4 separate regions of the Homo sapiens genome follow, and regions 2, 3 and 4 are each linked to region 1. The links are contacts of gene promoters, found by promoter capture Hi-C in blood cells and fetal thymus (Javierre and others, 2016). All regions are on one chromosome and are shown on one strand. Each heading gives the region's core, a stretch centred on a gene start or on the middle of the fragment in contact. The rest is flanking DNA. Distances are from core to core; before and after follow the strand shown.

Region 1 (3,441 bases), core at 486-2,985:
CTATCGACGTTACCGAACTGCCGGGCAAAACCAGAGCAACTCACTTACTTGGAAGGTGAAAAACACTTCAACATACTCCAGGCGGCAACCGACACTTAGGGGCCAGGCAGATGAAACACCATTTGTTTAAAAAGTCTATTATTTCACTGTCTCTTCAACAAAGGTGGAAAACTGATGATTAAACACTGAATAATGCCACCCACTTACTAAACCTATGATTCACTAATAAGCAGGTTCAATGCAATTCATAACTTTAAAGAATGAATTACCGAAGCCCCTTGCTTCACAAATTCCCCCAAGAAACAGAAAGAGCATTCATCACATATAACCCGACAACCATTTTTACTATGGACACCTACAGATGGCTTCTCTTCCTCTAAGGACACAATTTCCTTCACAATCCCACATGTAATCATTTACAATACCAGAAACAAACTCCAACTCAGTTCCACCAACTGGGTTTTTAAAAATCCTTGTGCCTAAGAACGTCTTTTTTCCCCAAAGTAAAATGTGCCATTAAAAAATATTTTTAAAACGCAAAAGTGCTTATCATTCCGTACTTCTTTTACTACCTTCAGCAGCCAATTATTGACGTGATAAAAGGTAGAAACTCCTGGAATGCTTCAGAGATCAACATGTGTCACAGACTCCCAGCCTGTCCGCCTCTAAGACACAGTTGGTTCCTTTGTTCCTTCTGACTGAACACCAACTCCTGATCAAAATTGGGAAACTACTTTGGAAGGGATGGGAGGGTCTGCAGAATACATCCACGGAAACCTTCATAAAACAATATTCAATCGTAATAAGGTGGACACAGAAGAAGGGAGAAAAGGCAGCCTCCCGGACTTCCACCGGGCTCACCCTAAATGGGGGCCGGCCCCTGGCTCCTGGTAAAATGATGGCTGAGGCCTCGGGTCCGTGAGCCTCGCCATCGGGAGGGGACCGCGAGTGCGGGCAGAGCGGCCCGGGGTCGGGTGGGGGCCGGGCGAGCTGTCCCTTTTCCTATTCACTTTCCCAGCCGGGTATCCAGCGAGCAAGGAGCAGGGAGGCACCCAGGCGAAAGGCGCCGCCCAGGATCCGGCTGGACAGCAGGACGGAGAGCGGCGAGGCGAGCGGTGCCCGGGGTTCGGGACCGAGAGGGCAAGCGAGCGGGGGCAACCCCGACCCGGCCCCCCGAGTCCGGCCCCGCTCAGGGGCCACGCGACGGCCGCCCCCTTGCCCAGAACTGGCACGGACGGGCGGGCCGACCCGGGGCCACTCCACAACTTGCCGGCCCGCCGCCCCGGCCCCCCGCGAGAACCCGGAGACTCGAACCAGGCAGCAGAGGCAGGATTTCCCCGGAAACGCGCCCTCCCCGCCGCCCCGACGCCCCCGCGGCCCTGCCAGCCAAGCGAGAGCCGACGCGGGCCGCGCTCCCGGGCCGTTTCCGGCGGCGCCGGCGGCCGCTACTCCTGGCGCCCTGGCCGCGGCCGTCACTCACCCCAGGCCGCCGCGGCTCCCAGCCTCCGGCTCCGTCAGGCTCGGTCCGCGAAGGCGCCTGCCGCCCCGTCCTGGCCCGGCGCCCCGGCGAGCTCTTCCCTCCGACCAGCGGCGCTCACGGCGCAGCGGCGGACGCGAGGCCACGGGCGGACGGGCGCGCGCGGGTGGCGGGCGGGCGTGGGGCCGGGTCGTCCCTGCGCCTCGCCGCCGCCTCCTCCGCCGCCGCCTCCCGAGTTCGGGGCTCTGCTGCAATGTCTGCGAGGCTGACTTTGAGCGCCTCGCTCACCGCCCGCCCGCAGCCGCGCTCCTCCCTCCGCCGCCGAGTCCGCCGCGGCCCAGTCCCTCCCCTCGCCGCCCCACGCCATTCAGCTCTTCAGCCAAGTTTCTTAACCCTTTTCTCCCCCTCCCTCCCATTGTCACCCGGTCAGGAGGAAGCCGCGCGGATCCGGGCGGCTCACAGGAGCTGCGGAACCCCCTCTGTTTCGTGGATTTCCTTCTCGCCTGCTCTCCGGGTGTCCCAGACGGGGCTGCAAGACCCGGAGGCAGCGAGAGGACCGCGTCCCCGAGAGAGGGGCTGCACGGCGCGCCCGGGCCGTCCCCCGGGCTCCCAGCTCTGTCCAGCCGCCCGCGACCGCTGCAGGCGCCTGGACAGCTCCTCCTGGGGACCGGGGAAAGCGCTCTTGGGACCCAGGCCGAATGCTCCCGTTTGGGCACAGCCTGGGGGCCGGGGCGCCCCAGACGCTCCAGGGTCCCCGCCTGCCTTAAGCGTCTACCTCCTCCCCTTCACCCCACAACACGCGCTCTCTGGGCCCCCTTTCACCCACCCACCCCCAATTTCTATCTCCTTGTAATCTGTGTGTCCTGCTTTAATGTTGGGGGGCACGGGCGCGAACTCTGGGTCACTTTGACCCCACGCCCAGCACGTAGTAGGCGCCCAGCACTCGTGTGGAGCGACTCTGGGAGGAAAACTAGGAAGGAGACCTGAGGAGCGCCCCGCTCAGCTCCCTGGACAGACGTAGGACCCAGGAGCAGGGTTAATCCTCGGCTGCTTTGTCACTGCGAAGTCTCCAGCGGAGTCTGTCAGCCAATCTGCATCATCCCCGGGAAGGATCTGACCCAACAAGACAAGGGAAAAGGAGCAGGGCTGCTACTTCTTCAGCAGCTCTCCTCGGTTCGGTCTCCGAATAAGAAATAACAATTACATCACGAGGCCGGGGCGGCAGCGCGGTGGAGCCTCTCGGTTTCCTGCAGCCTAATCTCACTGAACCCGCCTCTAAATTGGGGGGGCCACAGATTGGTGAAACGAGAAAGTGGAAGGAGGAGAGAGTCATACGAAACCATAATTTCCCCTTATCCTTGTATTTGCTGTTTGAAAAATCGTATCCTCAACGCTCCCCAGACATCTCACTAGAACTATTAACACCCCCTCAACACCTCCCCAGATGTCAGGTTTCTTTTTGACTTGAGCATCTAGCATTTAGTAATTCGCCATGAAAAAAATTACCAGGGGAAGCGAGTGTTGTTGCTGAAATTGTTTTTGCTTGACACAAAAAAGCTAAAGTACAGCTTAGTCTCACCCGAAATTCTGAAACGGCATGCCCGTGTTAAAACACTTATTACATAAGACAAATGAGCCGATGAGGCACTCCATTCTTATATGTAGGTTTTCATATCCTGAAGAATTTGATAGCATTTGGAAATGAAGTTGCTAATGCGCTTAAAAAACAAAAACTATCCAAGTCATGAAACTGTATTCTGTGCCTGTTATGTAATGGCTGTATTGTGTATTGCAAATTTCACTTAACCTTTAAACAATATGAATGAGAGTTTTAGAATACTGTCACAGTCTTGAAAGTGAAAGCAATTTTTCAAATTAATGCTTAATAAATTCAGCACCCAGCACAGTGCCGGGCACATAGTGCCAATGTTTTCCTTAGTGGCAATGGCACATTTTAAAACAAT
Region 2 (3,441 bases), core at 550-3,049, 210 kb after region 1:
TACATTCATTGGAACACCTTTTTGAAGGCTTCTACAACTATAGTTATCAGTCTTGGAAAAATAAAAATGATGTATTGAAATTTTCCTATAACTGTCATTGTGACGGTTGTGAGGAAGGTCAGGGCAAATTATACAACAACACGGAGCATGGGTTTTATTTGGGAAACTTACAAAATAAAATTACCTTGCAAAGGTTGGCAAGAAGCAATGCATATCTCCCTTTTCTCAGCATTCCATAGAGAAGTATGCCAGCTATGAGCAGTGCAGCTTGTGCCCTGGTAATTCCACTTCTTACAGTGTAAGCAGAGAATGGCCCAACGGTGACTGTGTTAGCCTTAGTTTTCCTGAAAGCAGAGATGTTTGAGCAGTGTATTTGGGAGTGTGATTTCACGGGGGCAAGAACAAGAGATGGGCAAAGAAATACACAGAAAGAGAGCAAATGACCCAGTATAAGTTATCCATTTAGTCACTGACAAGTTGGCTGACAAGTTGCTCAACACTGTGGAACAGCCTGAGTGGTATGACACATGTCTTGGGATCATCAGCTCAAAGGGAAAAAAAGGGGAAATATTCACCCATTGGCATCTGTCTCTCAATGGCCAAAAATTGTCCCAGGGGGCATTAATTTACTCTGCAATTTCTATCAGTCTTCTCTTTGTGTGAGAGGCGTCCTAGCACAGGATCGAGGGGTTCTTATCCAATGCCTGAGGGGAGGTATTGTCAGATTGCCTTTATAGAAAACTGATCAGAGTTCATGGCTGGAATAACAAACGATGTTTGAGTAAGTGTATGATATGCAAATTTCCCTTCAGGTGGAGGGCTTGATGTTTTGGACTCAGTTACTAATAGGTTAGGTGCCAGCTGTCACAGCTCAGCTCCTGGAGACCTAGTGAGCCCATGGGAGATTGCAACATCTTCTCCTGGGAGCCACCCATCCTGTGGGAATTTGGTTTTGAAATGCAGCTGGAGTAAATGCGGGATTCCAAGATAGCTTGTCCATCACCAGGCAATGAAGGAAGGGCACTGAGGCTCACCTTTGGACTTCCTGGTTGACATCCCATGGTCAGGTCTGGATATTCAGTGTGTAAATTCATTCTAATGATATTAATTTTAAGAATGTTTTACAATTTTTTTCTAATTAAGTATTTTATGCACATATTAGGAAAAAAAATTGATTTGGTAAACCTAATAAATTTGCATCGAACCTAATATTTTATGTTCATGAATTGTAAAGGAAAGCTTAGAGGGAAGATTCTCTGTGTCTTGCTTTTCAGAGAGAGACACAGGTATGGGTCAAAGGGCGCTTAGAACCTTCCCATCCTTAATACATTATGGAAAATATTGACTGCTCTTCATCTTTGATATCATAAATTAGAGTATTATGTTCATAATGACTATTTTCTATTTAAGGAGGTTTTTTGTGAAAAACATTATCTTTTTCTGAATAATAACTCCTTCAATGCTATCTATCTTCTCCCTCAACTGTGCCTTTGCAGCTGAATAACTGATTCACCATACTACTGAACAACTTTTTGATGACTTGAATTTATTTATTTATTTTTTAAAAGCCAATACATTCATTTGCCATTCTTGTACTTCCTGTCCTGCTTAAAGCACTTTTTGCTATTTTTTTGTGATGTAAAATCAGTCCAGTTTATCTCCATTCAAGACATCTTTATTGAAAATGACTTGTCTCCAGGCTTATTTTGGTTTCCCTTTCCAATCCTTATGGACAACTGGTTAGCTAATTGAGTCACTCCCAAGCCCCACTTCTGTTAATCAGTATATGTAATAAGTTGATGGAGTGTAAACATTTATTTAATAAAGAGAATGTCACATCGGTTGAATGTCACTTACAGAAGTTACAAAAAGGAGCCATCCATTTATTCTTTCAACAGATATTTGTTGAAGCATAAGATGCATAGCATGCTATTCTCTGTGTTATGGGATATTTTAGGATGTAAAAGACCTGGCTCACAAAAACATGCAAGCTAATGTTACTAACTTCATTTTGTCAAGCAATTTGGTATGGGAAATAACCAGTGGGAAAGCAAGTGGGGAAAGAAAAATAAGTAGAAAGACTCTGAACATATGTTCAACACAGCAGGAGACAGTGTTATAGACCTGGGATCCAACTTGTAAAAAGAAAGTGTGTAGTGGCTTGCATTTTGAAAAGAACCCCATATGGGGAAATATACTTTGTGGCAAAGACACAACAGGGAGACCTAGATGAGATCATGAGTATTTTCTCTGTGGAACCACAGAGAAGAATTTAGGGTTAGGAAGCCCATTAGCAGATGACATGCCCAGGAGCAACACTTAGCCACTGCCTGGGCATTCGTAGTGGCTTGTGTGTGTAGGAAGCTTATAAAGCTCTGAAGATTCCACTCATTTGCCTTTGCATTTAGCATCTTCTGTGCAGAAAATTAGTTATGCTGCAGCCTTAAAATGTTAGTTATCTAACATTTTAGAAAACTAGCTACCTATTAGGTTATAGTAATTGTATAAAAACATAAAATTAACCACTAGCTAGAATCATTTTTAGGATTTCTTCACTTTTAATTAAATCTAACATCAATGTTATAAAACCCAAAAGAATACAAAAAGATTTATTTTGCTAGTAAAATGAATTTTCAAATGCTTTCAAGTCCCTTGGGGACTAAAGTTCAATAATAATTAAAGTCTTTTCATACCGCATGTGGGAAAGGGCCAAACACCATGTTGAGATTTCGTGAGTCTTCTGTACCAGCAAAGAGAGGCAGTAGAAGAAAGAAACACTTCCCTGCTCTGCATTAAGAGAACTATTAGGCTGCCATTCATAGTGCAATTTTTTGCAGTCCTACAGAAACACATTTCTAGGTCTTTAGACAGTTGAGTTCCAAAAGGGTTTTGCAAGAATCAAATCACATGTGAGCTGAGTCAAAAATCAGGAGGTCGCTTTGTAGGTGAAGAATGTGGCAAACATAAGATCGGAATGAAAGCAAAATTGAGAGTCGGCAGTGCAGGCTTTTGGAGGCGAAAGCCCAAAAGACAGGCCAAGAAATGCTTTCGATGTTGGACCTTGGGGATAAAATGATGATTTGTCAAATTACTAACTAGGTGAAAAAAACAAAAGGACATTCTCCAGCCAGGATCATGGGACCAGAGGTGTTGCCAGGTCAAATGACATTACCGGGTGACTTATTGCTCTTGGTTTTTTCTTGATGCACTTCATTTAAGTTAACATTTTCATTCTCTGTGTTGTATTTTACGTATAGTGGTTTTCTCTACCTGAAGATTTTTGGAGTATTTACTCAATGACTTGTTTATAATTTGTTTCCTCCTCTTTCAAGGTGAGTTGGCTAAGAACAAGGACGTTTTCCTAGTCACCCACTGTCTCCAAGCTTGTGAACAGTTACTGATAGCACTCAACTGTTTTTTTATTTAAAAAAAAAATAAGGA
Region 3 (3,441 bases), core at 621-3,120, 200 kb before region 1:
AATACCTTTAACAGTACCCAAGTCACCTCTTGAATGCTTTGCTGCTTAGAAATTTCTTCCATCAGATACCCTAAATCATCGTTCTTGAGTTTAAAGTTCCACAAATCCCTAGGGGAGGGGCAAAATGCCACCAGTCTGTTTGCTAAAACATAACAAGAGTCACCTTTGCTTCAGTTCCCAACAACTTCCTCATCTCCTCCTCTGAGACAGCCTCAGCCTGGACCTTATTGTCAATATCTCTATCAAGCTTTTGTTCAAAGCCATTCAACAAGTCTCTAGGAAGTTCCAAACTTTCCCACATTTTCCTGTCTTCTTCTGAGCCCTCCAAACTGTTTCAACCTCTGCCTGTTACCCAGTTCCAAAGTTGCTTCCACATTTTTGGGTATCTTCTCAGCAGTACCCCACTCTCAGTACCAATTTACTGTATTAGTCCATTTTCACACTGCTGATAAAGACATACCCAAGACTGGTAAGAAAAGGAGGTTTAATTGAATTTACAACTCCATGTGGCCGGGGAGGCCTCAGAATCATGGCAGGAGGTGAAATGCACTTCTTACATGGCAGCAGCAAGAGAAAATGAGGAAGAAGCAAAAGTGGAAACCCCTGATAAACCCATCAGATCTCGTGAGGCTTATTCACTATCATGGATAGCACGGGAAAGACCAGCTCCCATGATTCAATTACCGTCCCCTGGGTCCCTCCCACAACATGTGGGAATTCTGGGAGATACAATTCAAGTTGAGATTTGAATGGGGACACAGCCAAACCATATCAATGTTAAAACAAAATCCTAACATAATTTTTTGTCTTACATATTGAACTTGGAATTCCTGGCTTTTTATTTACTTGGAACTTCAAAAATTGTTATAGATATACCACTTTTTTTTTTCTGTCAGGACCTAATTCTTATTTTAAAAAGTTACATGATGTCAGTTTCAATTTCTCTTGAGATTTCACTTGGATAACACAGACTATCACAATTTTGCCTCTAATTCACTCTCTGGTGAATTGCTCTGCTCTATCATTAAGGTTTTGAGCCTACCTTTATAAAATGGGCACAAAAAGGAAGTAAAAATTATGGTTCTTACATTCACTTCTTATGCATGTAAGAAAGGATAGAAAGATAATTTGGAGCTATATTACAAAATGAGTCAGAATCTGCCTACTAGTTCTGGAGGTCTTTCACAAACTCTCAAATTCTTGGGAAAACACAGCACTCTTTTAAAATGTCATGTTACATGGCCATTCACTGCCTATTATACTACTACACTCAAGCCCATGATTTCAGAAAGTCCCTCTCAAAAGGAGGTTCAGAGTGCAACTAGATTTTTATAACTACCATTTAAATCATCAATATAGAATATGCTTCTTTGCTCTTAATTTACTTTTCATTTCTATTTGGTGGGGAGTTCATCATTAAAATCCTCCCTGGAAGGTTTGCAAAGATAGAACTTTGGTTGAGGATGGAGGCAGAGGCAGCACTGGCCAATCCAGACTGCAGGGATCACTTTACAGGTCTTGAGAAAAAATAGTGGTAGGAAGGGAAGTAAGCAGGAGAGAGGAATTAACTAAAGAGAAGTAAAACGTGTCTTGTTTAAACTAGTGGAAGCAATGAAAATTTAGCAGCCATTGTTTGTCTCTTTATTCCTTATTTATAAAACTAAAGAGTAAACTATATTTTTAGGTTAGGTTTTAATTTATGGGAAAGGGAAAGAAACCTAAAAGAAGCCCCCTGCTGGCCACTCTAATTTCTGCCCTATTTGCTCCTTAAAAAAAATAAAAATAAAAATATCCTTACCTTTCCTATATTTTCCTACATTTAAGACATAATTTAACCTTTTATTGTTAACTGAGATTTATCATTGTTATAAATGCAATATACAAATATAAATCTCTAAAGGCATTTCAGTAATTTGTCTTTTATGACAAGAAGAAAATCATCCTTTGAAAGATATGTATCTTGTTTTAAATTTGCATTTAAAAGTCTATCACTAGTAGATTAGTTTTGTTATTTTGCTCTTAATCTGAGCACAAAATAAGTTTGTTTTGATTATCTCAAACTCTGGGAGGTCTTTAAAATTAAATAACAAATCCGAGTTTTATTCAAAATTATTTACAACAGTCTTTTGTCTTATTCTAGAAAATTAAGGGGACTACACATAGCAAAAATCCCGAGGCTGTGTTTGTTTCACGCTGTTACTTGAATCTATGATGAAATCATTTCCTAGGCTTATTCTTTAGAAAATAAAACTCCTTAGGGCAGACTGACCCGAGTTGCACAGGAATGTAAATAAAAATGATTATTTCTCTCTTTACATAAGACAAATATTTTACTACATTGTGTACTATAATAATCTTTCTCATGGCCAACACAGAAATATTAGCATCTACCAAATATGGTTAAATCCTCAAAGCCTACTTATAAAGCAAAAGCAGCACTGGAAATTGACATCACTTACATTTAGTCACATTTTCAAAAGAGCATGATTAATGAAACAGAAGTGTTCTCATGGAGCGTGTGCACCATGTGCTAGTGACAGTTATATCAGAACGAACTACATGTAGCATTTATCTTCCTTTTGCTCTGGTATCTCCCGAGTGAAACGCTTGGGTGTGTATGAAAAGCATAGGGAGAATGACAACTCATTTGGTATTGACTTGGCCTTTGTCCCAGCTCTCTCTTACATCATCAACCCCTTCCTCATCTCTGCTGTCACTGACTTTGAGAAAGCACATGGTTCAGCCATTTGACATCCTCTCTGTAAGACCAGGGATGAGTCTGCTATGCGTAGCTCTGTTTATTAAAACCTCAATTTTAAGAAGGTTACCATTCTACATAAAACCCTTGACCTCTCAGAGTTAGTGGTATGAGCCTAAAAGTTGCCAGGACATGCTAAACTTTTCCTGAGAAAGAGTCCAGTCAACAATTTTATGACAATCCTTCTGACCTGAGCTTTGCTTAATACCATCAAATAAGTCACAGGACAGTCAGGAGATTGGAAATGTATCACTTGATGAGGTTTTTCAGATTGATAACACGAGGGTAAGCAACTGTGTCATCCAGGAGGCTCCAAAGTCCAGGGTCCATTCAGGGCCAACTACAGCAGTGCCCCTTCCTAAGTCCAGGCCATTCACACCAACCGAAGCCCAGCAGGGGGCAGCTTCCCAAAGCTAAATCTAAAAAGACCATAGCCAGCCCAGCTGAAAGTCCCAGGAAAAGGCAATGTTGCCTAACAGTCATGAGACAGCTGGAAAAGTCCCTGCACCTGACACACACTGTTACAGACAGTGCTGCCTCATAGACGTGTAGAAGGCACATCAGGGAGAGTGTCGGGGTCAGGCCAGAAACTTCACATTAAATCAGGGAGGATTTGTTTGGGGCTCACATTTAGACAGAGAACAAAGACTTCTCTGTCATTTTTGTAGTTTTGTTCATTTGTA
Region 4 (3,441 bases), core at 470-2,969, 190 kb before region 1:
CTGTTAACTATCTGACCTTAAGGAAGTCACTCAACCAATTGGTTCTCAGTATTCTCTTTCCACACTGAGGGAAGTGGACAGATAATCTATGGTTGCTTCCAGCTCCAAAATTCAGTGACCCTTTAAGCTTAACTTCTTTCACCAGAATACCTGTCATTTCTAGGTAAATAGTGTTCTCAGTCCTTTCTGTTAAAAGAGGTTAAGTAAATAAAAAGGAAAGATCAGGCTATGCTTTTGGCCTAGATTATAACTTTGTGACCAAGGATGAAGGAATTTAATAGCAATAAGAAAGCTTCCAGGGTCTACCATTTACAATTTAAATACTTTACTTGGGAGGTTAAAAGTTCAAAGTTGAGTCACAGTCTGAGGTGGCTCTGCTCTTCCTTTTTAATTATCTGAGGTCAGGAAGTTAATAATACGAGAAATCCCCAGCGGAGACCTCTTGTGCACTGTGTGAACTTTAAACTTGCTCATTTTTTTCTTAAGGGTAAAAAGTTCAGCAGAAACACAGTGGACTTTTCCTCTTAGCCTCCACCCATTCATCCCCCAAGGTCAAAAGTTGAACTGTAAAACAGAAACCCTTGTTCTCTGATCCACATTTAAACAGATCACTTATTAAAAGGTAAACATTCCACATGCAAGCCAAAGTTCCAAGTGAATCTGCTCAATAAAAATAAAAAAACTGTAATAAAGTCTTTGATCTTTTCCACTTGTCTTAGAATTGAACAACAGAATTTATTTTCTCGTTTTTTGAATCTCAGAGAAGGGGCAGTCATATAAGCTCTTTCCTCACCTACCTCTGCCCTGAGATTGGCATATCTAAAAGAGATAAACCTAAGATATTTTAAAATAGTCAGATTTGGAGCCTTACCTTAAGGCAATTTCTTCAACTAATTCTACGCCATTTATGTTTGTTTATTTGTTTTGCTCAAACAGGAATTCAAGAACAGCAAATGTGATTTAAATCAGAGATATAAAGTACTACAGAATAAAAAGGAGTTTGCTGAAAATGGTAGAGGATGCTGTATTAGTCCGTTTTGCTGCTGATAAAGACATATCTGAGACTGGGCAATTTACAAAAGAAAGAGGTTTAGTGGACTTACAGTTCCACTTGGCTGGGGAAGCCTCACAATCATGGTGGAAGGTGATAGGCATGTCTCATATGGATGGCACAGGCAAAAAAAAAAAAATGCTTGGGCAGGGAAACTTCCTCTTATAAAACCATCGGATCTCGTGAGACTTATTTACTATCATGAGAACAGCATGGGAAAGACCTCCCACCAGGTCCCCCCGACCCACCACAACACGTGGGAATTTAATATGAGATTTGGGTGGGGACAAAACCAAACCATATCAGATGCAGAGAAAATAAAGAAATGGATGAATATATCCAATGAACCTCATATGAATAATGAATGGAAAATATCTGAGATCTTCACAGTGTTAAAGCTCAAACAAGAAGTGAAATAAATAGCTACAGAGCTCCAAATAAGTATTTAATGATAGTGACAAGACTCACTTTCTTGAAGTAATGATGGCAAACTTTAAAAGTATGGAAAAGCCATTGACCGAATACTAACCCAATCCAATCAGCATGCTTAGGAAAACTCCCTGAGATGATCACATGAAGCTGTTATTTCATGCAACCCATGTGTCCGTTTTTTTCAATGTGTACTTATTGGAAATGCTTTCACTTGTTTAAACAAGTCCTACCTGTGACTCAATATTTGTTTAAAAACTTTTTAAGAAAGCATCTTTGTCACCGTTTATCTATCTAAATGCGAATAATACCACTTGCTTCCCACCTTAATAATTTTTGTAAAGATTCTCATTAGAGAATACTTAAGCACAGAAAACGGTAAGAGCCTTGAAATTAAGATATACAATGAACACGTTTATAATAAATACTTTTCACTGATGTCAGTTTCGACAGTGTCATTTAAGTTTAAACGACTTTGTGATCACTTCTAACACAAATCAAAACTAGAAGATATGGCTCTAAGTAAGTTGTGTTCTAGATCCATTTACACTGTGAGTAACATTCACGACACCCTCTGGGACTCCTGGATGCAGCTGGTGACCCAGACCCAGGAATGACACAGCCAGGAAGGAAGTGAGGAAGGTGCACAGAGCTACTTCCTCTTGTTAGAACTCCCCTCTCAACAGCTGTAAGGAAGAATGGAAATTCCCTATGAATCAAAGTGTGACTTCGAAGTATGGGATACAATTTGAGAGACCTGATCATATTGATTAGGATGTTGACCAAAAGGAAGTCACTGCATTTCATTTGGACACTACTCAGACATTTAAGCTGGTATGACATTCATGAGAAACTTCTGGTTTCAATTCATCTTTTTCCCATGAATATTTATGTTCCTTTTTTTTAATCTTTAAGTCAGTTCATGATATTCAAGCTAGTTATTTCCAACCTTCTGTCTGACTGAATTCTGTATTAAATCTTTCTTTGTTTCCCCCCTGCAAAACAGGTTAATTCATGAGAGGCTATTATATAGCAAGGACCATGCTGCCATGCTGTCTGTGTTCTGGGCATATGTACCCTCAAAGTCCTCATAGGATAGAAATAGTACTAAATCTGTATACAATGAACTGGACACAACAATGTGGGGACTATACTACAAATACTATGAACAAAGTGCCGGGAGAACCCTGAGTCTTTGCCATGTTCTTTGATGCCTTTGTGCCTTACACATTCTGATCCCGCCACCTAAAATAATCCTCTTGTCCTTCATCCCTGGGACCCTGTACTCTGCCTCAGTGCTTCTCTTCCTACACACTTCACCTCCCCTTGCCTCTCTGAATGTAAGTGTCTCTTCCACAGCAATCTGTGCAAAGACTAACACCAGAGTAACTATCTTACAGTATTGTAACACTTAGCTAATTTTTCTGCCTCCAACAATAAATTCTGATCTATTTGAGGAAGTGAACTCCAATACCATTCTCAAGGAAGTCCTTTTTTAGAAATATAGACTGAAACCTGACAGAAAAGGGATTCAGTGTATATCCTAAAGGATGGCATAGGAGAGCTGAGACTTAGCAGGGTATACACTAGAGTGGTCTCATGCTCTTCTTGCCAGCACACCACTAGGTTAGCAGTTCTCAACTTTGGCTGTAGTTGGTATAACCTGGAAGCTTTAAGATATTTTTGATGTCTAGGTCTCAGTTCTAGAAATTTTGAATTCACTGGAATGGAGTAGATTTGGGTCATTAAGGTTTTTAACTGTTCCCAGGTGATACTGGGGATGATGAGAACTTAAGGATGAGAATCAATGCACAGCAAGACACTGTGAAATGGGAATAGATGTTAGAAGCCACCATTGGCACTAGGGGTCACAAATGGATTGCCAATTTAAGAATACCTTATTTTTCATAATTCTCTTAAGGAATAAGTTTTCTTCCACCTGAACTGTTTCAGCAGTTCTA

What was found. The method cuts DNA at HindIII sites, captures the fragments that hold promoters and counts their contacts. A CHiCAGO score of 5 or more calls a contact.
Region 2: a contact is called between a fragment that was not itself captured here and the fragment with the promoter of NRIP1 in region 1, in 1 of 17 cell types (megakaryocytes). The highest score is 5.9, in megakaryocytes.
Region 3: a contact is called between a fragment that was not itself captured here and the fragment with the promoter of NRIP1 in region 1, in 4 of 17 cell types (megakaryocytes, M0 macrophages, M1 macrophages and 1 more). The highest score is 8.9, in megakaryocytes.
Region 4: a fragment that was not itself captured here is called in contact with the fragment with the promoter of NRIP1 in region 1 in 1 of 17 cell types (endothelial precursors); the score reaches 6.0 in endothelial precursors.

The regions. Positions count from the first base shown.
Region 1 is chr21:15,063,265-15,066,705 of GRCh38, forward strand. It overlaps NRIP1 (nuclear receptor interacting protein 1), which reads right to left and starts at 1,736. Exons shown (of 4, transcript NM_003489.4): 1 at 1,481-1,736. RefSeq lists enhancers at 88-137, 2,588-2,637 and silencers at 968-1,827, 2,078-2,257. The HindIII fragment of the contact is 10,218 bases long and covers 1-3,441 here.
Region 2 is chr21:15,275,536-15,278,976 of GRCh38, forward strand. It overlaps LOC105369292 (a long non-coding RNA gene), which reads right to left. Exons shown (of 4, transcript XR_937592.2): 3 at 185-344. Among named protein-coding and RNA genes, the nearest start is that of LINC02920, 210 kb to the left of the region's middle. The HindIII fragment of the contact is 1,125 bases long and covers 1,238-2,362 here.
Region 3 is chr21:14,861,270-14,864,710 of GRCh38, forward strand. All of the region lies in intron 1 of ASMER1 (adipocyte associated metabolic related lncRNA 1), which reads right to left. Among named protein-coding and RNA genes, the nearest start is that of ASMER1, 56 kb to the right of the region's middle. RefSeq lists an enhancer at 3,409-3,441. The HindIII fragment of the contact is 3,251 bases long and covers 246-3,441 here.
Region 4 is chr21:14,877,510-14,880,950 of GRCh38, forward strand. The region is part of intron 1 of ASMER1 (adipocyte associated metabolic related lncRNA 1); the gene reads right to left. Among named protein-coding and RNA genes, the nearest start is that of ASMER1, 39 kb to the right of the region's middle. RefSeq lists enhancers at 541-610, 2,019-2,313. The HindIII fragment of the contact is 2,858 bases long and covers 291-3,148 here.